2 separate regions of the Homo sapiens genome follow, and region 2 is linked to region 1. The links are contacts of gene promoters, found by promoter capture Hi-C in blood cells and fetal thymus (Javierre and others, 2016). All regions are on one chromosome and are shown on one strand. Each heading gives the region's core, a stretch centred on a gene start or on the middle of the fragment in contact. The rest is flanking DNA. Distances are from core to core; before and after follow the strand shown.

Region 1 (5,344 bases), core at 2,845-5,344:
CAGGAGGAAGCTGTCAGTGGGAAGAGCAGCTAGGGTTTAGGGGAGCAGGTTATGCAGGAAGTTGTCCAGGTAGAAGCTTTCCCTATGAAGACCCTCTTCCCCCAAGAATCCTTCAGGAACCCTCAGACCCCCTAGTGATCTCCATTCTCTGACTTCTTTGATTTATTCCCTCAACTTCTCCACTGAGTGCTTGGTCCTATGCTGCCAGATACTGCTTCACAATTCAGTATCTGAACTGTGAGTCTACCTAGTTACATGAGTCTCCCTAGTTAGTCCTCCCTCTTTTTTTTTTTTTTTTTCTCTTTTCTTGAGACAGAAAGTCACTGTTGCCCAGGCTGGGGTGCAGTAGCGAGATCTTGGCTCACTGCAACCTCCACCTCCCAGGTTTGAGTGATTCTCCTGCCTCAGCCTACCAAGTAGTTGGGACTATAGGCATGCGCCATCATGCCTGGCTAATTTTTGTTATTTTTAGTAGAGACAGGGTTTCACCATGTTGGCCAGGCTGATCTCGAACTCCTGACCTCAGGTGATCCTCCCGCCTCGGCCTCCCAAAGTGCTGGGATTACAGGTGAGAGCCACTGTGCCCAGCCTAGTCCTCCTTCTTTCTTCCATTACTTAGACCTCTAGCACTTACATTCTGCCTTAGAGTCTAGCTGATTGTTTATATGTCTGCTTTTTCCATGCATCAGGAAGCTGCCTAGGGGTGGGAACCATGTCTTAGTCATCTCTTTTCCCTCAAATTCAACCAAGATGCTCCAAATATGCTGAAGTAGACTCCCTGGGGGCAAGCAACTGCAATTATATTAGTTTGTATCCTCCACAGTACTGAAGAGCTTCCTATGCACATAGTAGGGATTAACAAACTTTGTAATTTTAAGAAGTCTAACAGAAAATACTCAAGTATGCTTTGAGAATTTCTATGCCATTTCTGTCTTTTGAAATATCATTCATGCCATACCAGTGGAATGGGAAATCCTGGGGCTTGCTTTTAATTAACAACTTTTTTCTAGACTAAGAGGGGAGAGGTGGGAGGAAAAGGAAAAAGAGTGATTCAGCTGACTGGACAGAGCCACAGATAGAGTCCTGCAAGTATCACAGCCCCAGACTATCCAGAGGGGTCTCATTGTCTTTGTGGCACTATGAAACATTTTTGGGACAGGCTTTGTCTAGCAATCACATTCAGTGGATTGGCCTTGCTCATTGGGAGCCACTCAAGGCTACTTAGAAGAGGTGTGCATCTCAAACACTGTCTGCTCAGTCCAGGGCCACTGACAAGTCAACTGGTCTGTGAATCCTAGGGCCGGCTTCAGCATTCAGGAAAACGCTTTGAACTTTTACCAGGGAAGGCACACAATTTCAAGTGAAGCCAAAAGTCATGTGTTTGTTTCTCCTTCTGATTAGTCTGATCATCAACTGGGACTTTATCATCATGGGAACAAAAATACTCAGATTATCTGACAAGTATCTTAGTAACCATTTTCTGATAGTAACATGTATATGTGGATGATGAATCCTTAGTCTCTCTTGTCTTTGATTACATCCTTCCACCCTCCCCAGGAGGGTGGTGGTAGGGAGGGCTAATGATCTCTGGAGAAGAAAGAGATAAAGCTTCCCAATACCAGGCTGGGAAGGAAGATTTATTAGGATTGGCCTCCTAATAAAAAAGGAAATAGATACAGACTGGCTCTCAGACCTCCAGGGAGTCTCAGTATACTCGTCATCAACAAGATAACTGAATGCTGCCTCCTCTGGGATCCCACAAGCTCCTCCTTTCCACCAGCTTCTGGTGTCTCACTGTCGCTGCCTGTGAAAGGTCCTTCTACTCTTATAATCTACTGAAATGATACTTCTCTTCCTCAAGACCACTTACTCTGGTCACAACTAATTGCTCCCTCCATATGCACCTATTGCCCTCAGTCCTCCTTTCAGCCTCAGCCTCATTATGTGTGATGATGCCTTCCTTGTACACAGATGTCTGTGTTCCTAGCCCCATGGGGACACCCTGTGGAAGAGAAAACACTTGCCTCCCGGGAGTTTCTAGTTTAAAAGGGGCACACGTGCATACACACAACACACACAGAAAAATAATAGCAGTGGGATAAGTACTGAAAATCTGGTGGAATACTAGCAAGTAAATTACGAAAATTTATGTATTTTATACATATCTGGGTTTTTGTTGTTGTTAATTAGAGCCATTTTCAAGTAGAAAAGCCATTTCACATCTGATTTAGTTTGTTTGTTTGTTTGTTTTGAGACAGTTTCCCCTCTGTTGCCCAGGCTGGGATGCAGTGGCATGATCGCGGCTCACTGCAACCTCCTCATCCCAGGTTCAAGCGATCCTCCTGCCTCAGCCTCCTGAGTAGCTGAGATTACAGGCATGTGCCACCACACCCGGCTAATTTTTGTATTTTCAGTAGAGACGGGGTTTCACCGTGTTGGCCAGGCTGGTCTCGAACTCCTGACCTCAAGTGAGCCACCCACCTTCGCCTACCAAAGTGCTGGGATTACAGACGTTAGCCACTGCGCCCGGCCTCACATCTGATTTTGAGGGAAAGAAGAAACTATCTTCGGCTTAAAAACGGTCAACATGACCCTGACTCCTGGAACATGCCATAGAGGGAAGAGTGGACAAAGCGCTAGGCTATTGGAGTCCTTTCCCTAACTCACTGGTGGTGACTTCCTCTCTGACAAATGGAAATCATTTGCCGCCTAAGAGCCTGTCGGGGAATGAAAGGTAATAAAGATGCTGGTGAACTGGCTGGGCGTGGTGGCTCACGCCTGTACTCCCAGCATTTTGGGAGGCCAAGGCGGGCAGATCACCTGAGGTCGGGAGTCCCAAACCAGCCTGACCAACATAGGGAAATCCCGTCTCTACTAAAAATACAAAATTAGCCGGGCGTGGTGGCGCATGCCTGTAATTCCAGCTACTGCCTGTAATCCCAGCTACTCGGGAGGCTGAGGCAGGAGAATCTCTTGAACCTGGGAGGTGGAGGTTTCGGTGAGCCGAGATCGCGCCATTGCACTCCAGCCTGGGCAACAAGAGCGAAACTCTGTCTCAAAAAAAAAAAAAAAAAAAAAAAAAAAAAGCTGGTGAATTGTTGTTTGCAGGGGAACAGGCCAAGCAAAATGCACAGCAACCTGCAGGAGGCCAAGCAAAATGCACAGTGACCTACAGGAAGAAACCTGACTGGGAGTTCCTCAGACTCACAGGAAATCAGTTGTGGGTCTGATTCCTCTCCCTCCTCAGCTCTTTCCAGAGCCTCAGCCTGGAAATCTCCATCTCCTCCTTGTGGGAGCTAGGTACAATGCAGTGATCCACGGCCAAGCTGAAGTCTCGAGTTAAATCCAAGACCTGAGGGTACTCCCAATCCCTCAGTGAAGTGCTGCGCTGGGTTGCCGGGCAACTAACTGCTACAGCTGGGGCAGAAGGTGGGTGGGATGCTGAGAAAAAAATACCAGAATCGAGGACAAGAAAAACAGAGTGGGAGGGGCTTTTCAAGGATCTACGCTTTAGAATTTACACCATCCTTCCAAATCGTAGCTTTGTTTCCGGGAACTGAGTTGTGTTTACCTTGGCTTCCGACTATGTTGGCAACAGGTTTCCTGCAAGAAACAGGCGCGTCTCCACACCCTCGTCCCTCCTCCCCACCCCCTGCCTTTCAATAGCCATCTTCCTGGAGCCGGAGGCATCCCAGATTAAGGGAGAGGTACGGGCCCTTTAAGCTTGACCTATGGAGGCGGACGGAGCTAAAACTGACGTGGAACCGGAATGTGAGCGGTGTCAGACACGTGGTACAAGGAGGCATTCATCTTGGAACCGGGCAATTGGCATTTCCGCTCTGGGTAGTACATCTTTAACATAATGTTAGGGAAGTATCCGTTCTTGGCTGCCTTTCTTTAATTGCGTTTCCAGTACTCTCTCGGTGATTCTACTCTTGAACATAGGATGAAATTTGGAATCACACTTCTCTTCCACTTCCATCCCCACCCTCTAATGCCCATATTAAAAATGGCGGCCGCCGCCTTCCGCAGTAATGGTTGTTCAGCGAACAAGATCCGGGCGGAAACAGTAGATAGGCGGGTGCAGCGGGGCAGAACATAGGTTGCCTTAGAGAGGTTCCCCGGTGTCCCGACGGCGGCTCAAGTCAGAGTTGCTGGGTTTTGCTCAGATTGGTGTGGGAAGAGCCTGCCTGTGGGGAGCGGCCACTCCATACTGCTGAGGCCTCAGGACTGCTGCTCAGCTTGCCCGTTACCTGAAGAGGCGGCGGAGCCGGGCCCCTGACCGGTCACCATGTGGGCCTTCTCGGAATTGCCCATGCCGCTGCTGATCAATTTGATCGTCTCGCTGCTGGGATTTGTGGCCACAGTCACCCTCATCCCGGCCTTCCGGGGCCACTTCATTGCTGCGCGCCTCTGTGGTCAGGACCTCAACAAAACCAGCCGACAGCAGATGTGAGCAGCGGCACACGGGTCCGGGCAGGGGGCAAGGGCTAAGGAAGGAGTGGCTAGGGCAGGGGCGGGAACCGGGGTGCTTGACCACACGTGAAGACTCAGAACTAACCCAGGCAGCCTGGAACTCGGAGAGGTGATGAGCAGAACTTACTCGCATTGGGGAAAGGATGGGTAGGGACCCTTGGGTATATCTGGGACTCTGGCAGTGGTGCTTTCCTCCCTCCGCCCCCCTCACCACTTACCAGAATAAAAAACCGGGAATGAGAAGACCACTTTGGGTTACTGTAACACCTGCACTAGTGAGTGACCACGCCCCCTTTCCTCTTCCCCCTCGCCCCCTTGCTGCTGGGCCACAGCCCAGAATCCCAGGGAGTGATCAGCGGTGCTGTTTTCCTTATCATCCTCTTCTGCTTCATCCCTTTCCCCTTCCTGAACTGCTTTGTGAAGGAGCAGTGTAAGGCATTCCCCCACCATGAAGTAAGTGGGTTCGTGGGGGTGATTGCCTGTGGCTGGGACCTGGGAGGTACCTGAGAGAACTGGGGTTATTTGGGCTTGTGGGGAGGGGCTAAGAAATTATCAGAAAAGACAGGAATTCTTAAAAGGTGGAATGGGAGCAGGCTTGAGTCATGGACCTGCCCGAGCCTCCCCCAGTTTGTGGCCCTGATAGGTGCCCTCCTTGCCATCTGCTGCATGATCTTCCTGGGCTTTGCGGATGATGTACTGAATCTGCGCTGGCGCCATAAGCTGCTGCTACCTACAGCTGCCTCACTACCTCTCCTCATGGTCTATTTCACCAACTTTGGCAACACGACCATTGTGGTGCCCAAGCCCTTCCGCCCGATACTTGGCCTGCATCTGGACTTGGGTAGGTAGTCCTACCACTGCTGCCCCT
Region 2 (6,819 bases), core at 440-2,939, 2.0 Mb after region 1:
TCGGCAAGGGCAACTTCGCGGTGGTCAAGCGGGCCACGCACCTCGTCACCAAGGCCAAGGTACCGGCGCAGGGGCCAGGCGGCAGTCGGAGCGTGGCGGGGCCGGGAGAGGTCCGCGCCCCCCAGCCGGGGGGTCGGGGCGGCGAGCGCGGCGCGTGGTGGGAGCGTTGGGGGCCGGGAGGCGGGAGGGAGCCAGCCGCGGCGGGGCGGGCGCGGAGCTAGGGACACCTGGGACTCGAGACGGCGGAACTCCAAGCAGGGGGCCGAGGGCACAGAGCACCGGCGCCCAGGAGCCGGGCGCGGGGAGGGGTCCTCGGGGCTGAGGGCAGGCGGGTAAAGGGGATGATTGGAAAGAAGGGGTCGGAACTCCCCGAGGGCCGGGAGACTGTAAGCCCAGAAGACTCTGGAACCAGCAGCTAGGGAATCATAAGGGAATGAGGGCAGGGGCATATGAAATGTGGACCCGGAGGATGGGGAAAAACAAGGGTGAAGTGGCAGACCCGGGCTTGTAAGGGGACCCAGGACGGCTGGGGCACGGACTGGGAATGTGCACGTCTGCAGGGCGCTGGGAGGTCCCAGGATCCTGGTGCCTTAAGACAGAGACAGGAATCCGCATTTGATCATCTAAGACTGATAGATGGTGCGAAGGGGATCCCGAGGAGACACGATTAGTGGAGGAGGCAATGAGGAAAATGGGGAAATAAGGGGGAAATTGCTTTGCTTGTCCACAGGAAGGGGCCCAGGGAATGGGGGAGTGAGGTGGGGGTGGGGGCTGTCCCAGGTTTATGATGGCACTAGGTAGTCAGGGGTTAAACAATTTGGGAGAGCTGATTGCTGGTTATTTTTAGTTGTTGGAGGGTCGGGAATTGTGGGCTTTGTAGAACCCAGGGTGGGCTTTTACTGGTTGGGGGGAAGCTTGTGATTGAAGAACCCAGACACCGGGAGATTACACTCATCGAGCCCTTAGTTCTCAAAGGGATTTGAGGCGCTATAGGAGTGAAATTGGCCAAGGTCAATTAGGAAGCTATATATGTATGCATGTAAAATTCTTTGAGGAAATATGGTAGCACTTTCATGTAGCCTTCGTTGGGAGGACTGGAATCTAAGACATCAGGAGGAATCTTTTGGTTTTGGTGGAACCCGCAAAGCCCATTTTTACTCTAAAATTTTCTTTGCTCAATATCTTACTTGAATGAATACTTTTAATGTAGTCATTCATTATGTTTAGAACTGCAGCTTGTGTTTTCCCTCAGCCTGAGGAATGAAGAACCCTTACAGCTGCTGCCGCCTCCTACCAAAGCCACATCAATTCCCCTCACCTCCTCAGCCTAGCCTCTGGTTGTCATGACCTACCTTGTTTTTGCTTTTTTGGCAGTGGCTTGTTTTCTGAAGCCAGTGACTTATCTAGGCCTTCTCTCCTGATCACTTGCAACCTGAAGTTCCTTCCCCACCATCTTTCTGCCTGAGGCTACAAGGGGCCCTTCTTACCAGGGTGTCAGGGTGGGTGGCTGTGGCGAATTGATTGGTCAGTTTCACTTCCTCTGGAGGGCCCTCTTCAGCCTTTTTGTCCGTTTTTATCACAGGGCCTCCAGTCTGCAGGTCAGAGCTGAATGAGATACCAAAGTCCAGGGCTCCCTCAGACCCTGAGGGGAAGTCAGGGGAAGTCGATTGAGCCAAGACTTTGGTGTGCTCCTCACTTGCCACCCCAGCCCCTCACCGTGTTTCCAGTCTAGTTGACTATTAGCCAAGGCAAACTTACATTTACAAACAATATGCCTTGTTCCTTGTTTTGCTATTTCTTTCCTTTTTTTCTGCCTATTTTCTGTGTAATCACTTTGTGCTCCTGTGGTTATTTTGCTCTGACCTCTGGGGGATAGTCTCCATGAACTTAATTGGTTGCCTGGTTTATGGTTTCATGATTTAAAGAATTTTGAATCTTCCAGCCCTTGGATACACCAAAATATTGATAAAATCTGTTACAGACAGGGTTGAATGTTTTCGTAAATGTAATTGCAAACAGTTGATTCTTGGCTTTAATATAAAAGAGACATTTCTATCTTCAGTAGTCAGCAAAGCCAGTGCCTAATTATGGCTGGTCTGCCCGCTTTCTAATTTTCATGTGTGTGTATATGTGCGTGCGTGTGTTTTTCATAGTTTTTCTCTGAGACCTTGGTATCCTTTAGGACTGCAGCATTTTAAACACTGGCTTGTTTACAAACGGGTGTCACTGTTTATGTTGGTTTTTATCTTTGATCATTTGTGGTATGCAGTTGTGCAATTCCTATGTATGGAAATATTCAAAGTCTTGAATGAGACTGAAATGGCTTGGACAATGAGTTGCATGTGTGAAGGAGCCACACCAGCATTCATTTGTGTTTCTGTAGCAGTGTGCAATTTCCTAGTTACAGTTACAAGTGCTATATCTTTTGCTGCTTAAATTACTCTGACTACATGAGTGAAGCTTAATTCACAAGGAGTTGTCACGTGCTCTGGGTGAACTAGGAGCATATTTTGGCCTGCTCCATGCTTCTCTGAATCCACTTTGGAAGGGGTTCTCAAATGCGGACAGCTTAGATGTGCCTAACAGCTGTCGACATACAGTACGATGGCCTATTAAGGTTATGGTTTGGTTATATAACAATGGTGAAGGTGCATAGGTACTAGAAGTTGCCGAAGCTGCTGCTTCAGTTAACTCAGGTTGATTTTTTTTCTCCCCATGCACTGCAGCCTTTATCTTACTTCTGCAGAGGGGTCATTTGGAAACAGAGAGTTATTTTTTTCCCCCATCTGTCTCCAGAATGTGTCATTTGTTGTTTTGTCTTTTAGAGGTGTGTGATTTTTTTTTCCCCTTGTAGGAAATGGTCTGGGTTTTCTTATAACCATATATAACAGTCAGACAGAGGTAATTCAGATGATACTTGTGTTGGCTGAAGGAGGTTAGGTAATAGGTATTTTCTGAACATTAGAAATAATTATGATCCCCCTCCTTTTTTTTTTTTTTTTTTTTTTTAAACACACATGACCCATTCCAAGAACTAAGAGACTAAAGTAAACCTCATTTATTGAGTAGGATACTGCACTCCATCCAATACTGCGTGGTTAAGCTGGCCCTTTCCCAAATTCTGTTAACTCTCAAACCGTCTAGAGTGGGATCCTGGGATGAATAAAATCAGTAGAGAAAAGTGAAGCTTTTCCTATTTGGTTGTTGGTTACTTTTGCAGCACGGCATTCATGAGCTCAGACTTCATATTGGCAGCACTGCAGTGCTTAGAGCGGCACTGCAGAACAGTTACCAGGAGAGAATGTTCAGCTGTGACATACTTTGGTTAGTAGCTCACCCTGGCTGTCTTTGTCCTACCTGCTTTGATTTCCTTTTCTTTGGAAGAGCCTTACTTAGCCTGAGGTTCTCTGGCTCTGTTTTTTTTTTTGGTAGGAAACTATAAAGTATTACAGATATTTTTAAAAAAGAATGTTTTCTGCTCTCAAATTGCAGGTAGTCTGTTGCCTGTGCCTAATTATACCTTCACTAGTTGGATGATTGGGAACAAAGAGTAGATAGATTTTGTATGCATTTTTTTTCCTTTTTTAAAATATTGGGGCAGGGTCTTACTCTGTCACCCAGGCTAGAGTGCAGTGACACTGCCAGAGTTCACTGTAACCTCCAACTCCCAGGCTCAAGAGATCCTCCTGCCTCAGCTTCCTAAGTAGCTGGGACTACAGGCTTATACCACCACACCAGGTTAATTTTTAAATTTTTTTTGTAGAGATGGGGGTCTCATTATGTTGCCCAGGCTGGTCTTGAACTTCTGGACTCAAGTGATCCTCCTGCTTCAGCCTCCCAAAGTGCTGGGATTACAGGCATGAGTCTGTAACCCAAATGCTTGGCCCATATGCATTTTTTAAAGTATGCATGACTATAAAAGCCTTTGGCCAAATACGTTTAAACTATATTTCAACAAATATATATCACTTGCCTGTTATTGGTTTGTGGTAAGAGTTCCAGCTTTGGATAAAGCAACCTGAGTTTGAATCTTTTGCTGCTTAATAGTTGGATATTTTTAGGCTGTGAGAAGTTATTTAACTTCTGTGTGCTTGGGTTTCCTCATCTGTAAAGTGGGATGACAGTAGTACTTACCTCACAAGTTTAGGTGTTATGAAGATTAAAGAAGATAGTGTATGTAAAGCTCTTAGAGCAGCATGGTGCCCTAATAGCATGACGTAAATATTACCATCATCATCATCGTTATCAGATGTTTTAGTAACATAATAATATTATGGACATAATAATAGTCCTCCTTTTTTTGCTTCTCACCCCTTGGGCACGATTCATGAATGTATATGCCATTAGTTTTGTGTAGGTAGATGCCATCCTGACGATAGACTTTCCTGGTAAAAAAAAAGTTTGCTACTATTGCAGGTGCCACTTTGAGATAGTTGGATTTAATTTGTATAGGGTACAGGCTGGCTAATCTCATGAAATCAGCATTTTAAAACATAAATTTTCATTAGTTAAACTTTTTTTTTTTTTTTTAAATAGCAATGTGACTTATCTAATGAAAACTGTGACCAACACTGGCTTTTGCTTTGGGCTGCCTTGAATTTTCAGTGTGTTTTGTGTAACTAATTTTTGTTATGTTGATGATGGAACAGAGTTGAGTGCAGTCTTTTCTCCAGAGGTCCACTTAAATTAGGTTTAAGTGAAATATTTAAGAAATGTTTCTGCAAGCTTAAGGACACATTTGCCCTTGCGTGCACAAGCAAAGGCCTTAGACGGCCAAGGTCAGAATTCTTAACTTTAAATATTACACAGAGAAGACATTTTGCCCTATGACCCCTTTCCAAATATTGACTAGCCAGACACATCGGTGTGGTTTAGTGCAAACTCATTTCCATGAGGAGAACAAGTCAAAGTGGGCTAAAAGCATTATTTTCACCTCTAAAGAAGAGTTTAACGAAGCACATGAGATGATGCTTTCACCCATTAGAAAACTGAAAACAAGATTCATTTGGTAAGTAGGAGAGAATTATGTCAAAAAGAAATTGAAAGCAGAATTTACATTAGATACATTTGAGGAAGATAGCCCCATCCCTAGACAATCTAGAAGTGACTATTGAAAGATGATTATGTTCAGTTTGATACAGTGGTGATGGGGTTGCTAAACGTTTTTGAAATTTTGTAAAGAGCTAAGACTGATTGAGACTAGTCTCTCCAGAGTCAAAATACCAGTATTCCATTTTCTACATCAAAGATGTTTATTTTAACATTTTGACTTTGGTGCCAGCTCCCTAGAAAGTCATAGATCTCGCTCAAGCCAGAGGTGCCCAGACTAGTTATTTCTGTGCCAGAAGTGCTGTTTTCATTTTTCAGGCTTCAGTCTGGCTAATGTTTTCTAGTTCATCGCGTAAAAGAGAACAAAATGGATGCTTTGAAAAGAAAAAGAAATGCTTTCTACTCACCAGAGCCACTGTAACTGTAAAACAACACCTAAGACATCTGCATAGAGATGGAACCTTTCCCTTAATCATTTATTCATTCAACACATTTATTGAATGAAAATTTTTTGTCAGGTTCCATTCTAGGGTCTGGAGTGCACCAATGAACAAGGGAGACAAAAAGCATCTGCCTTTCTGGAGCTTTCTAGTAGAAGGAGACAGACAAGGGACATGTAAAAAAATTAAAAATTTCATATAGGAATGAATACCAGGAAGAAAATAAACGGACTAGAGAATCCCTGGGGGGGGCTGCTGCCTCAGATAGAGTGGTCAGGGAAGACCTTTCTTTCCAAGATGATGATATTTGAGCTGAGACCTGAGTGATGAGAAAAAGCCAACCTGGGAAGATTTGGAAGACAGAAGATTCCTTACAGAAGGAATGGCATGTGCAAAGGCCATGGGGCAGAAGTGAGTTTGGTTTGGTCAAAGATTAGACACAAGGTCATGATGCCATGGTACCTTAGCAAACAAGTGGAAGGATGGGAAAAGATGAGGCCAGACATGTAGGAGGGGCCAGATCATCTGGGTCTTATGGCCATTTTATGGAATTGGGTGTGACACGGGGGTGACATCAGAGAGTATCAAGCAGAACACTAATATCACCTAATTTATGTTTTTAAAACGTGGCTGGATGTGGTGGCTCATGCCTGTAATTCCAGTGCTTTGGGGGGGCATGAGGCAGGAGGATCACTTGAGGCCAGGAGTTCAAGACCAGCCTGGGCAACATAGTGAGATCCCATCTCTACAAACAATTTAAAAATTAGCTGGGTGTGGTGGTGCGCACCTGTAGCCTCAGCTACTTGGGAGGTGGAGGCGGGAGGATCACTTGATCCTGGGAGTCTGAGGCTGTGGTGAACTATGGACACACCATTGTATCCCAGCCTGGGTGACAGAGTGAAACCCTGTCTCAGGAAAACAAACCAAAAGAAAAACAGCAACTCATGCTGGTTATTTTATGGTTAAGAGCAAGAATCCTTTTCTGATGCATTTCTTGGCACAAGGGAGGAGTTCAGTTTTAACAACTTATATTCTTTCTCACTGTAGAGGAATATTGACATAAATTGCACATAAATTAAGCATGATCAACTAACAAGTATTTGTTGATTTATTGGGCATGAAAAAGACCTTAGAGAGGTTCTATTCTAGTTCTGTCTTCTCCACAGTCTGGAAAGACAGACTTAACAGAATTTATAATCTCAGGTTTTGCCTGGCATGGTGGCTCACGCCTGTAATTCCAGCACTTTGGGAGGCTGAGGCAGGTGGATCACCTGAGGTCAGGAGTTCGAGACCAGCCTGGCTAACATGGCGAAACCCTGTTTTTACTAAA

Evidence for each region. Contacts are between HindIII fragments. The CHiCAGO score rates a contact against its expected background, and 5 or more counts as called.
Region 2: a contact is called between a fragment that was not itself captured here and the fragment with the promoter of DPAGT1 in region 1, in 1 of 17 cell types (monocytes). The highest score is 6.5, in monocytes.

What each region holds. Positions count from the first base shown.
Region 1 is chr11:119,100,603-119,105,946 of GRCh38, reverse strand. DPAGT1 (dolichyl-phosphate N-acetylglucosaminephosphotransferase 1) reads left to right here and starts at 4,094. Exons shown (of 9, transcript NM_001382.4): 1 at 4,094-4,452; 2 at 4,809-4,929; 3 at 5,104-5,317. The coding sequence starts at 4,292. It also overlaps a transcript of C2CD2L not described here. RefSeq lists enhancers at 2,826-3,538, 3,750-4,059, 3,242-4,441, 4,253-4,966. The HindIII fragment of the contact is 9,998 bases long and covers 3,726-5,344 here.
Region 2 is chr11:117,091,383-117,098,201 of GRCh38, reverse strand. It overlaps SIK3 (SIK family kinase 3), which reads left to right. Exons shown (of 25, transcript NM_001366686.3): 1 at 1-59. Among named protein-coding and RNA genes, the nearest start is that of SIK3, 3.6 kb to the left of the region's middle. RefSeq lists an enhancer at 1,217-1,266. The HindIII fragment of the contact is 1,546 bases long and covers 917-2,462 here.